2 separate regions of the Homo sapiens genome follow, and region 2 is linked to region 1. The links are contacts of gene promoters, found by promoter capture Hi-C in blood cells and fetal thymus (Javierre and others, 2016). All regions are on one chromosome and are shown on one strand. The core of a region is centred on a gene start or on the middle of the fragment in contact, and the rest is flanking DNA. Distances in the headings are between cores, read along the strand shown. Region 1 holds the start of PECR (peroxisomal trans-2-enoyl-CoA reductase). Region 2 holds the start of CNPPD1 (cyclin Pas1/PHO80 domain containing 1).

Region 1 (5,642 bases), core at 2,087-4,586:
GGCAGCGCGCACCTGTCGTCTCAGCTTCTCGGAAGGCTGAGGCAGGAGAATTGTTTGAACCTGGGAGGCAGAGGCTGCAGTGAGCCGAGATCGCTGCCACTGCACTCCAGCCTGGGATACAGAGCCAGACTCCATGTCAAATAAATAAATAAAAATAAAAAAGAAAATCAGGCTGTTTTCTGCTTAAAATCCTCCTGTAACTTCCTACTGTTATACATGTGGAAGTCCATGTGGCCTAAGGACCTCCCCATCCTGCCACCCCATCTGTACCACCATAGTAGGGGTACTATGCTCCAATCACACTGGCTGTGTATTTCTTCCTCAAGAGCACCAAATGCTTCCAAATGCTTGAGGTCTTCTTAACTGCTGTCTATCTTGCTGCTCTGCTGCTCCACCCCGCCTCTTCCTGTGCCCGTTTTTGTTTTTTTGAGTCCTTGTTCAAATGTTTCCTCCTCTGAGCCCTTCTTGACACCCGAACTAAAAACTTGACTCCCTGCTCTGCCTCTCATTATTCTTTATCACAACAGCTTGTTTCCTGTGTAAGGCTTACCAACATTTGTCATTATTTATTTTTCTTTTACTTATTTATTGCATAGCTCTTCTACTAGACTTCAAGCCCTATGAAGTGGTACCATAGAAGTAGGCCAACAAATAGATGCTCGATAAATCTTTTTAAGTGACTGGGTGAAGTGGTAGCAACTCAGGAGTAGCTTATTTTTTGTGAAAGCCTGAGACTAAGGAGAAGTTTAATAAAAAGACATCAATAAGCTCCTTTATATGCCTTGTTATGGCACAATTGCTAGGTAGTTTTGCTTCAAGGTAGGGGCAGGACCAGATGCTTCACTGACATTCTCTCAGCACTGAGATTCTGGGAGTCTAAATGTCGAGAATCCCACAAGCCCCTGTCAGTCTGAGCTAGCAGCTGCTTTGCAGAGGGGAGAAAATAAAGTTACCAGGCAGATGGGGTGGGGGAGGGGTGGGAAGCTGAAGGCAGTCATTGCTAATGGGGTATGACAGAGCTGTGGGGAGAGGTTCGGGGGTGTGGGAGGACCTTGGCCACAGGAATGCCTTTTTCCCCAGGACAAAGAGGGCAGTGACGCAGAGCACAGGGAAGAGCAGCATTTGATTCAACCAAAGGAGTGGTCAGTGCAGCATGGCGTGGTTGCCTTCGGAAGAGATGCCTCAACCAGAGGCAGAACTAAAATTTCAAAACAAAGAGCTTCCAAGCAGCAGATCTATTGCTCTGCTTCCAGGCCTTTTGGCCTGGAACTTAGCGGATTAGTGGACTTTCAAACCCTGACAGAGGTCAGAGGCAGAGGCAAAGAGATCATGCCTCCTAATTTTAAACAAAAGATCGCTTGAAGAGACCCCAAAGCTCTCTTAATTGCAGGTTCTGCCTGGATCATGAAAAATCGCCTTCTGACTGTTCATCCTGCAACTTCCTTGCAGCTGAGGAATGGCACCTTGTCATCCTCAGTAGGCATAACCGGTTTGCAGGCCCCAGTCCCTGTTTCACTGGAAGACATCAGAATCCCACTCTCAGTCCGCTCAGCAGCCACACGGAAGCTGCAGCACAGCCAGCTTCCCACTGACCCACCCTGGCACACCTCTAAGAATCTATAGGTCCAGACCAGGGCATAAATCATGTTAAGTTATATCTTCAATAAAGTTATCATTTAAAAGAATTTAAAGTGTCCCCACCCACAAGAAAGAAAGTCTGGACTTCTCTTGAATAAGATACCCCTCAGAACTGAATCAATATTTCTTTTCCTTAAAAAAAAACACCTTGTCATTGGGATCAAACCAAGAGGAGTTATATGTTTCTGCAACAACACTTTGAGCTTTCCTGTTTGAATTTACTTTGTTTTAAAGGAGGTGATGGCGTTGTAATTTTAAAAATTTGGTCCTAACTACAGAATTGACTTAAGTAGTAGAGTTAAGTGATTCCTGGATAAACTATCTAGCAAATGGTAACCAGGAGATTTATTCCTTTCTTTAACGAGTGTAGATTTGAATCTGTCAGCAACAAAGATAGAGGGAGAAGTGATTCTAAAAAGAGATCAGAGAAGGACAAGAGGATGGAGCAACAGGGAAGTGTAGCTGTCCAACAAGAACTGCAGCCTCGCTGGTGGGTGGGACCTGGTGGAGGAAGTGATGGTCTGATTCCTCTGTCAACCAGACCCATTTCCAATTGGCTTTGTGAATCCTAGGTGGTAGGTCCAACAAAAGGATGATGGCATTTATTTGCCTTTATATTATTTTAATACCTGTCCGGGGAAAATGCAACACTCTGACAACAGCCTTAGAAATAGCATCCCATCTGGATTGTTAAGACCACAGCAACTGGCACATTCGACCAAGTTCTTAGGGTGAAGTCTCAGTAGGCCAGTCCAGGTGTAATCTCACTCTGGTGGGTTCAGAGCGGGAAGCAAGATGAAAAATAAGGAGCAGATCTGAATAATAAATCACTGTTACTGGGCACCATAACACAGACGAGAAATTTTCCCCATCCTCAGCGGGCTCACCCTCCTGCACAAGGAATGAACTACAGGACATGATCTCAAACACCTACAGATGCATCTTGCAGGAAGCGTGCACCCTTCAAGGAAAGATCCTCTTCTGGACTCGCTATGCAGCTCAGCTGAAATGGATCAGGTCTCAAACCTGGTAAAGATGATCTTTCCCCTTGATTCTTGGGTGGGGAGTGGGAGGTGAGACGGAGGTGGGCCTGAGTTTATTTTTTCAAATCGTTTATTCTCTTGGTTCTGTGGAAAACTGCAACCGCATCTCCTCTTCCCCTTCACTCTCTTTCCCGGGCTCCCTCCCGAAGGATGAAAGGATCTGAAAGCCGCATTTCTCCCCCTCAGCTAAGCCTGCCCTTTCTCCCCTTCCCAGCCAGCGGCACACAGCACCTGGAGCCACAGCATCGCCGACGTCCGACCCCGGCAGGCGGGCGCAGCGAGGGCGCCGAGCAGCAGCCTTTCTTTTTCCAGCTGCACTGGAGATTTAATTTTAATTAATCGTGAGAGCTTCAGCCCTGAGGATTGAATTTTTGAAATAGAGCACACCCTGCTTGTTTCTTTCTTCTTCTTTTTTTTTTTTTGCATTTCCCTTCCACCCTCCCCAATGGCATCGAAATTTAAAGAAACGAACGAGCAGTCTCACCCACACCTGCCCAGGGACCGACGCTGGCGGAGGTTGCGGACAGCCGGCGGGGAGCGGTTCTGCTCCGGGAGGATGCGGCTTTGCCGCGGCCGGCGGGCGGGGCGGGGCCGGGCCGGGGAGGGTGCGGGGTTCTGGTGGTCACGTGGGCTCGAGCACCGCCCTGTCCGCCCGCCCGCCTCGAATGTCCCTGAGACCCAGAAGGGCCTGCGCTCAGCTGCTCTGGCACCCCGCTGCAGGGATGGCCTCCTGGGCTAAGGGCAGGAGCTACCTGGCGCCTGGTTTGCTGCAGGGCCAAGTGGCCATCGTCACCGGCGGGGCCACGGGCATCGGAAAAGCCATCGTGAAGGAGCTCCTGGAGCTGGGTACGTGAGCGGGCCGCTGGTGCAGAGAGGTGGCTGTGGTGACCTGGGGTAACCTGGAGACGGGAGCCAGGAGCTCTCGGCGGGGCTGAGGGAGTGTGGAGCTGCAGAGCAAAGACGGGGCAGGTGTGGGCGAAATTACGACCACCAGGGAGACAGAAGAGAGCAGCTCTTCCTAAGGAATTGTGGAGCCACTCGTTAAAAACTGAAGAGACCACTCAGGCCAAAGAGACTGTGCCCCAGGTAGGCAGTAAGAAGAGCAGTGAAACATGCTGTGCAATTAGTTTTATATTCAGATTTAAAATTAATCCATTCTATATGCTTAATGTGAGTGATTAGGAAACGTGGGAAGACTTCATTTAACTGGAAAAAGTTGTGAACATAGTGAGTCTCTCATAGTATCTTCTCACATCTCTTAACCACAGCAAGGAAATATGCTGAATATTTACCTTAACTTGGGTGAAGGAAGGCCTTTGTAAACACATAAGTGAGGGAATAAACCACAAAGGAGAACATAAATCAATCTACCTGTATGAAAGTGTAAATCCTCATTGAATTAAAAAAATATATAAAGTTTAAAGGCATATGAAGAAAAATATTTGCAACATAAGATAAATTGTTTGTTGGTTTTGAGATAGGGTCTCACTCTGTTGCCTACGCTGGTCTCGAACACCTGGGTTCAAGGGATCCTCCTGCCTTGCCTCTGAGTCCTAAAGTTTTGGGATTACAGGCTGAGCCACTAGATTCGGCCAACAGCCTTATACATAAAGAGCTCTTACAAATAAAGAAAAAATCCAACACACTGATAGAAAAATTAGACTAATGGTATGGACTAAGCGTTCCAAAAGAAGAACTACAGACAGGCAAGAAACATATGAAAAAATAATCAACTTTATTGGTAATAAAATATGAAACAGTAAGATTTAACTTTTCTAACAAAATTTTGAAATGTTGGGAAAAATTAAAGTGTTGATGCAGGAATGAGAAGGCAGGAATGTAAATTATTACAAACTTTCTGGAAGGCAATTTGGAAAAAAAGATCCAAAAACCTTCACAATGTTTATGCTCTATGACAGTAATTCCTTTTTCAGGAATTTAAGGAAACGGAGTCAAGCAAAGATTTTCATGCAAGGATGTAGTCTTGAGTAGTGAAAAAATGGAAATTACCTAAAAATCCAATATAAGGAAAATAGTTAAATCAATAACAATGAAATATAATGCTTCCGTTTAAATATCTTGCTATTGGTCCTGGCGCAGTGGCTCACGCCTGTAATTCCAGCACTTTGAGAGGCCGAGGCGGGCAGATAACCTGAGGTCAGGAGTTTGAGACCAGCCTGGCCAACATGGTGAAACTCCATTTCTACTAAAAATACAAACCAGGCATGGTGGCGTACACCTGTAGTCCCAGCTACTTGGGAGGTTGAGGCGCAAGAATCGCTTGAACCTGGGAGGCAGAGGTTGCAATGAGCTGACGTCAAGCCACTGCACTCCAGCCTGGGCAACAGAGCGAGATTCCATCTCAATAAATAAATAAATATCTTGCTATTGAAGACTTACTTGGAGAAATGCATACCATATTATTGGGAAAAGTAGAATTCTAAACCTAATAGCATTCCAATTTTACTTTTTTTTTTTTTTTGAGATGGAGTTTCGCTCTTGTTGCCCAGGCTGGAGTGCAGTGGCGCCATCTTGGCTCACTGCAACCTCCGCCTCCTGGGTTCAAGCGATTCTCCTGCCTCAGCCTCCCGAGTAGTTGGGATTACAGGCACGCACTACCTTGCTAGGCTAATTTTGTATTTTTAGTAGAGATGGGGTTTCTATATGTTGGTCAGGCTGGTCTCCAACTCCCGACCTCAGGTGATCCGCCCGCCTCGGCCTCCCAAAGTACTGGGATTACAGGCGTAAGCCACCGTGCCCGGCCCAATTTTACTTTTAATAAAATATATACATGCAGGGCCGGGCACGGTGGCTCATGCCTGTAATCCCAGCACTTTGGGAGGCCGAGGCGGGCAGAGCACAAGGTCAAGAGTTCGAGACTAGCCTGGGAAAACATGGTGAAACCTCGTCTCTACTAAGAATACAAAAATTAGCCAGGCATGGTGGCGTGTGCCTGTAATC
Region 2 (5,534 bases), core at 721-3,220, 3.1 Mb before region 1:
TGAGTGGGTGAGACAGGCTCATGCATCCATCTCAGAAGGTGGAAAGGCGCCTACTGATGGGGTAATGGCACCTCCAGGCCTAACTCGCGACTCACGACTCAGAGATAGAAAAAAATGGGCAATTCAAGCGGATGTCAGCCTGCAAAAACTGGGGATGGGTCATGCCCCCAGGCCAAGTGATAACCCAGAAAGGGGAATGGTGCTCTCGACCCCTCCCTCCCCCGCTCATCCCGGCCCCGCCCCCTCCTCCGCGGCCGTTACCAGAAGAGGCCGTTGAGCGCGGCCGCCGTGACCAGGCTGTGCAGCGGCTTCTCCCACACCAGCAACCGCTGCGCCGCCGCCAGCACCGCCTCCCAGCCGCGGAGCCGCAGCCACAGCGTCGTGGCCAGGCGTCCCACCGCCTCGGCCGTGGCCGCCTCCTCCTCTGCCTCACTGGTGGCCTCACTCATGCCTAGGCTCAGACCCAGACCCAGGCCCAGGCTCAGGCCCATCCCCGGCCCCCCACCCGCGCCAGTGTTACCCCCGCCACCGCCGCTCGCCATAGCCCCGCCGCAGCCGCCGCCCGAGCCCGCGAGGAGCCAGGGCTGCGCGGCCGCCGCCGGGGGCGCGTCAGGCGGAAGGGGGCGCCGCGGAGGACAGCAGAGGTTGCGGACGAGCGTCACGTGACTGCGGAGCGCTGAGCCCGTCACGTGACGCGGCCTAACCCCCCCCCCCCCGGATAGGGCGGGCCGCGCATGCGCCCCGGCGGCTGCCGCTGACACTGCGCCTACACAGGTTCGTTTTCTGGTTGACGAAGTACCCCGGGTTCCGAGTCCGGGTCTAGGTCCAGGCAGTCGAGCCCGTTTTCTTATCCCACAGTAGGCAGGGCGGCTAGGGAGTGTGGTGCTGCCCCGGTATCCCCGTGTGGGGCAGGAAGTGGGCTTCCAGATTCCCAGTATCCCCGGTAGGGTCTGCTTCTGCTCGCTCGGGAAGGGCGGTGGCCGTCCCATTACTCAACCAACCCTCAACGCACTGGTCCTCCCAGTTCCCTCCCCTCAGTGGGTAAACAAACACACACCAGCGCTTGACTCGACAGACTCGAAAACAACATCTACTCAGAAAAGTTGTTTCTTTCCTATCTCCTTAAACTTTCCCACTTCCACATATCGGAGCTTCTTCCCACCTCGGCCTACTCAAGCATGAGATCGGAGGCGGGAGGTGGGTTTCAACACAAAACCTTGGGTAGATGCAGTTTACTTTTGGGTGGACGTGTTGACACGTTTTGAGGCCTTACATTCGCTTAAGATCACAGAATTTCCTCAGTAGCCTTAGGTTTAAAAGTTCAAATTACAGTAAAAAAAAAAAACACCCTGAGTTTCTCTTCCTTTTCATAGTTCACCCACTGCTAAATTTCCTGTGTGTCCTTTCAGACGCTTTTCATATGCATTGCTGAGTATGTATAATATCTCTCCTAAAAAGCAACTGGGAACAACTTCCTGTTGTGCGTTTCGTCTTATTCACATTAACTTCTCCATTGCTACGCCTGGCTTGTTCATCCTCAGTGCGGCGTGGTCCCCCCTACGAATTGTCCCCATTTCTCAGAGGCGCCTGGGGCTTGGCCACGTTCCGTGAGACCAGGAGTTCGAGTCCGGTTCCTGCCCGCGGGTCGGGGCGGGAGGCTGGGCCAGATGGGCGGCAGGAAGTGCCAGGCGCTGACTTGCAGGCGGCACCCCCGCGGCTTGTAAACGCCGGGCGGACGCGGCACAGGCGGAGTACGCGCCTCGCAGCCGCATCTCCTTTCTGCTCCGCGAGGTGAGCGTCGCACGGACGCTTGACACCTCCCTTCCCGGGCCTAGGGCCCCCGCGCGCCGCGCCAAGCCCGGGGCGGAACAGGAAGAGGCGCCCAGTTCAGCCCGGGCCCCGCCTTCCGCCGCCGGGGGGAGGGAGCTGCGAGGGCGAGGGCGAGGACGGCGGCCCGCCCCGGGGAGGCAGGCTGGCAGGTGGACAGGCGGGCAAGGACAGCTCCGCGAGCCCCCTACAACTCGTTTCCTTCCGTTCACCTTCGCAGGGCGGCGACTGGCGGCGCGATGGACCTGACCGGGCTCCTGCTGGACGAAGAAGGCACCTTCTCCCTCGCCGGCTTCCAGGACTTCACGGTGAGTGGGGGTCCCGCCCCCTCCCCGGCCTCCCGGCGCGCCCCTCCCGGCCTGAGCGGCGCTGCGAGCTCGCCTGACTGCTGTGCCGGGACTGGGCGGCAGCTGCTCGAGCAGTGCTTCCTTGAGGCCGCGGCTGCTTGGGCCGGGAGGGAGAGCCGCGGAGTATAGGAATGGGCGTAGGGGTGGCCACACGAGGGCCCTTCTCGGAGAACTTCTCCCGGGGAACCCTCGATGGGGGTGGGGGCATTCCTCCCTCTATGGACCAGGCTGCCATTGGCAAGCGATTTACAGAACGCGGGTCTGGGTAAGGCACGGGCCCCCTAGCAGCGAGGCCGGCCTGTCCCCTGCCCCGCCTTCCAGCCCAGAGCCAGGATCTGCATCATACCTTTCCGTGCCCTTCACCCTCCGCTGCCCCTGCCCTGTTTCAGTTCCTCCCAGGACACCAGAAGCTGAGTGCCCGGATCCGAAGGAGGCTCTACTATGGCTGGGACTGGGAAGCCGACTGTAGCCTGGAGGAGCTCTCCAGCCCGGTGGCAGGTTAGGCAGTGTTGTGTGACTGGACAAGTGAGAAGCATGAAAATGGGATTGTCATCAGGCAGAAAATGGCTCGAGGTTTGCCCCGTGGCTACACTGTCTCTTCATTGCTAGCTCGTTGGTACTTGGTTCAAGAGGGCAGTTTGCATTTCCCATTCTTTTAGCCCAAATGAATAAAAAACATTGCTGCCACATATATCTATACAAATCACTCTTGATTTATATATTGAAAAGCTAATTTTCGAAGGATATCCATCATATGTTCCCCAAGTAAACAAGGCATGTTTATGCCACAGATGAACAGCAGTGACAGATAAATCTGGATAGTTTGATGTGACAGGGCAATAAGCTTTCCTGTTAGAATGAGCTGAAATTCGAACTTGGAATGGGCTTTTTGTCTCAGTGTGTGAGAATTTGATCTCTATTTTGTTACTATGGTCCTGTCCCCAAGGCCTCAGAAAATACAGATCTGGGTCTTCTGCTAGCAGTGGGGACTGGTGTGTTGGGTGTGGGTGCTTGTTTGCTCACTCGGCCTTCCTTCTGTCCCTTGCAGACATTGCTGTCGAACTGCTCCAGAAGGCAGCCCCCAGCCCTATTCGCCGACTCCAGAAGAAATATGTAGCTCATGTGTCCCGGTGAGCCTGGAAATGAGGATAGGATGAGAGTGTTTGGGCCCTAGAGAAAGGGGAATCGTCTTTTCTTTCTTTTCTTTCTTTCTTTTTTTTTTTTTTGAGACAGTCTCACTTTGTCACCCAGGCTGGAGTGCAGTGGCACAATCTCGGCTCACCGCAACCTCCGCCTCCTGGGTTCCAGTGATTCTTGTGCCTCAGCCTCCCCAGTAGCTGGGACTACAGGCACACACCACCGCCCCTGGCTAATTTTTGTATTTTTAGTAAAGACGGGGTTTCACCATGTTGGCCAGGCTGGTGTCAAACTCCTGGTGTCAGTCCACCCACCTTGGTCTTCCAAAGTGCTGGGATTACAGACATGAGCCACCGTGCCCAGCCAGGAATAGTTTTTTTCCAAAGATAAGAGGTAAAGACAGGAACGAGCATCATAAGACTTGCAAGAGCTGAAGGACCCTTGGGTTTAATTAGTGATCCTTTCTACCACCCAGGGAGGCATGCATCTCCCCATGTGCTATGATGCTGGCTCTGGTGTACATTGAACGGCTCCGGCACCGAAACCCAGACTACTTGCAGCATGTGTCATCCTCTGACTTGTTCCTGATCTCCATGGTAAGACACCCCCTCCCCATCTCCCTAAAGAGCCAAGAGCCTGCTATGAGCTCTGCTCCACCACTTCTGGTTCCTCTGCAGATGGTGGCCAGTAAGTACCTCTATGATGAAGGGGAGGAGGAGGAGGTCTTCAACGACGAATGGGGAGCTGCTGGGGGTGTGGCCGTGCCCACTCTCAATGCCTTGGAGAGGGGCTTCCTGAGTGCCATGGTGAGCAGCTGTTCTCTCTCTTGCTCAGTTTCCCTGGCCCATCTTTAACCGTCCTTTAGTCCTTTGTTCTCTCTCAGTCTTCTGTTGGTTCGTCATTTCTCTTCCTGTCCTCCTCCTGCCTTTGTGTTAGTGTCTTCCTTTCCTATCTCTTCAGTACTAACCAGTTTTTGGAGATTCGTAGAGCAGTAAGGCCAAGAGCAGAACATTTCCTCGCCTCCTCTATTCCTCCAGGGCCCCACAGGGTACACTCTGAGTCAGAGTTTATCCTATTGGGTTCTGAATATTTGTGTCCATACTTTCTCTGCCCCTAGATGTTTAGCTCCCTGTGGACACAGACCATTCTCAGGGTCATTTTCTCCCCTCTTGCTTAGTGGAGAGTATAATGTGAAACCAGGCAGGTGGTGATTCAATGAGTTAATGTGTAAAAACTTTTGAGACAGTATCTGGCACATGGTAAGTGCCAAATATGCATTAGCCATAGGGGCGGTTGTAGTTGCTGCTATGGCTCTTATTATTAAATGACTGTGGCTCATCCAAGTCTGGTTTGATGTCCACTCTCCGTACTCACAGGATTGGCATCTCTACACTGACCCTCGGGAGATCTTTGAGGTGCTGAGCTGGTTGGAGAGCTGGTAGGTTCTAGGAGTTGGGAAGAAGGGCTCGAGGGATTTGGGGGCTGAGTCCTCAGCCATAGGAGCTAGAGATGAGAGTCTGTGTAACTGGGGGAGGGAGGAGACAAGAAAGAGAATTGCCCAGATAGTGGTTCCCAGACCCATCTGTCCTCTTCTTCATCACCTTTGGGAAGGTGAGAAGCAGCTTATTTAAAATACATGTATTGGGTGGGTATGGTAGTTATGTCTATAATCCTAGCACTCTGGGAGGGTGAGGCTGGAGGATTACTTGGGTCCAGGAGTTCGAGACCAGCCTGGGCAATATAGCAAGATGCCTGACCCTACCAGAAAAAAATACTAGCCAGATGCAGTGGTGTACACCCATAATCCCAGCTACTCAGGAGGCTGAGACAAGAGGATCATTTGAGTCCAGGATGTTGAGTCTGCAGTGAGCTATGATTGCACTACTGCACTCCAGCCTGGGAGACAGCAAGATCCTGTCTTAACAAAATAAATAAATAAAAATAAATAAAATATAGGTCTTGGTCTCACCCTTAGTTTCTAGATCAGCAGATAGCCTAGGAATCTGGGTTTAACAGGCTTCCCAGTGTTTCCTGGTGGGTCCTGAGTGGTATGAGGGTGCCACTGGGCTGGCTGCAGGACAGTTGCATACTCTTGTCATTTCTCCACTTCCCCCAGTGTGGCTGAGCAGCAGGGACGGTGGCGAGGCTGGTACACCTACACAGACCTGTGTGTGCTGCTGGAGCAGCCGACCTGGCAGTTGGCCCTGGGCTCCCTCTGCCAGC

What was found. The method cuts DNA at HindIII sites, captures the fragments that hold promoters and counts their contacts. A CHiCAGO score of 5 or more calls a contact.
Region 2: the fragment with the promoter of CNPPD1 here is called in contact with the fragment with the promoter of PECR in region 1 in 1 of 17 cell types (neutrophils); the score reaches 6.3 in neutrophils.

What each region holds. Positions count from the first base shown.
Region 1 is chr2:216,079,503-216,085,144 of GRCh38, reverse strand. PECR (peroxisomal trans-2-enoyl-CoA reductase) reads left to right here and starts at 3,336. Exons shown (of 8, transcript NM_018441.6): 1 at 3,336-3,527. The coding sequence starts at 3,404. It overlaps TMEM169 (transmembrane protein 169), which reads right to left and starts at 3,226. Exons shown (of 3, transcript NM_001142311.2): 1 at 3,166-3,226. RefSeq lists enhancers at 381-450, 3,575-3,624, 3,655-3,734 and a silencer at 3,125-3,384. The HindIII fragment of the contact is 11,582 bases long and covers 1-5,642 here.
Region 2 is chr2:219,173,361-219,178,894 of GRCh38, reverse strand. CNPPD1 (cyclin Pas1/PHO80 domain containing 1) reads left to right here and starts at 1,970. Exons shown (of 8, transcript NM_015680.6): 1 at 1,970-2,135; 2 at 2,564-2,672; 3 at 3,223-3,304; 4 at 3,787-3,907; 5 at 3,989-4,117; 6 at 4,688-4,749; 7 at 5,428-5,534. The coding sequence starts at 2,067. RETREG2 (reticulophagy regulator family member 2) reads right to left here and starts at 620. Exons shown (of 9, transcript NM_024293.6): 1 at 262-620. The coding sequence starts at 542. RefSeq lists silencers at 186-255, 1,706-1,755, 1,826-2,035, 2,156-2,215, 2,054-2,348 and 2 more and an enhancer at 425-925. The HindIII fragment of the contact is 4,554 bases long and covers 1-3,020 here.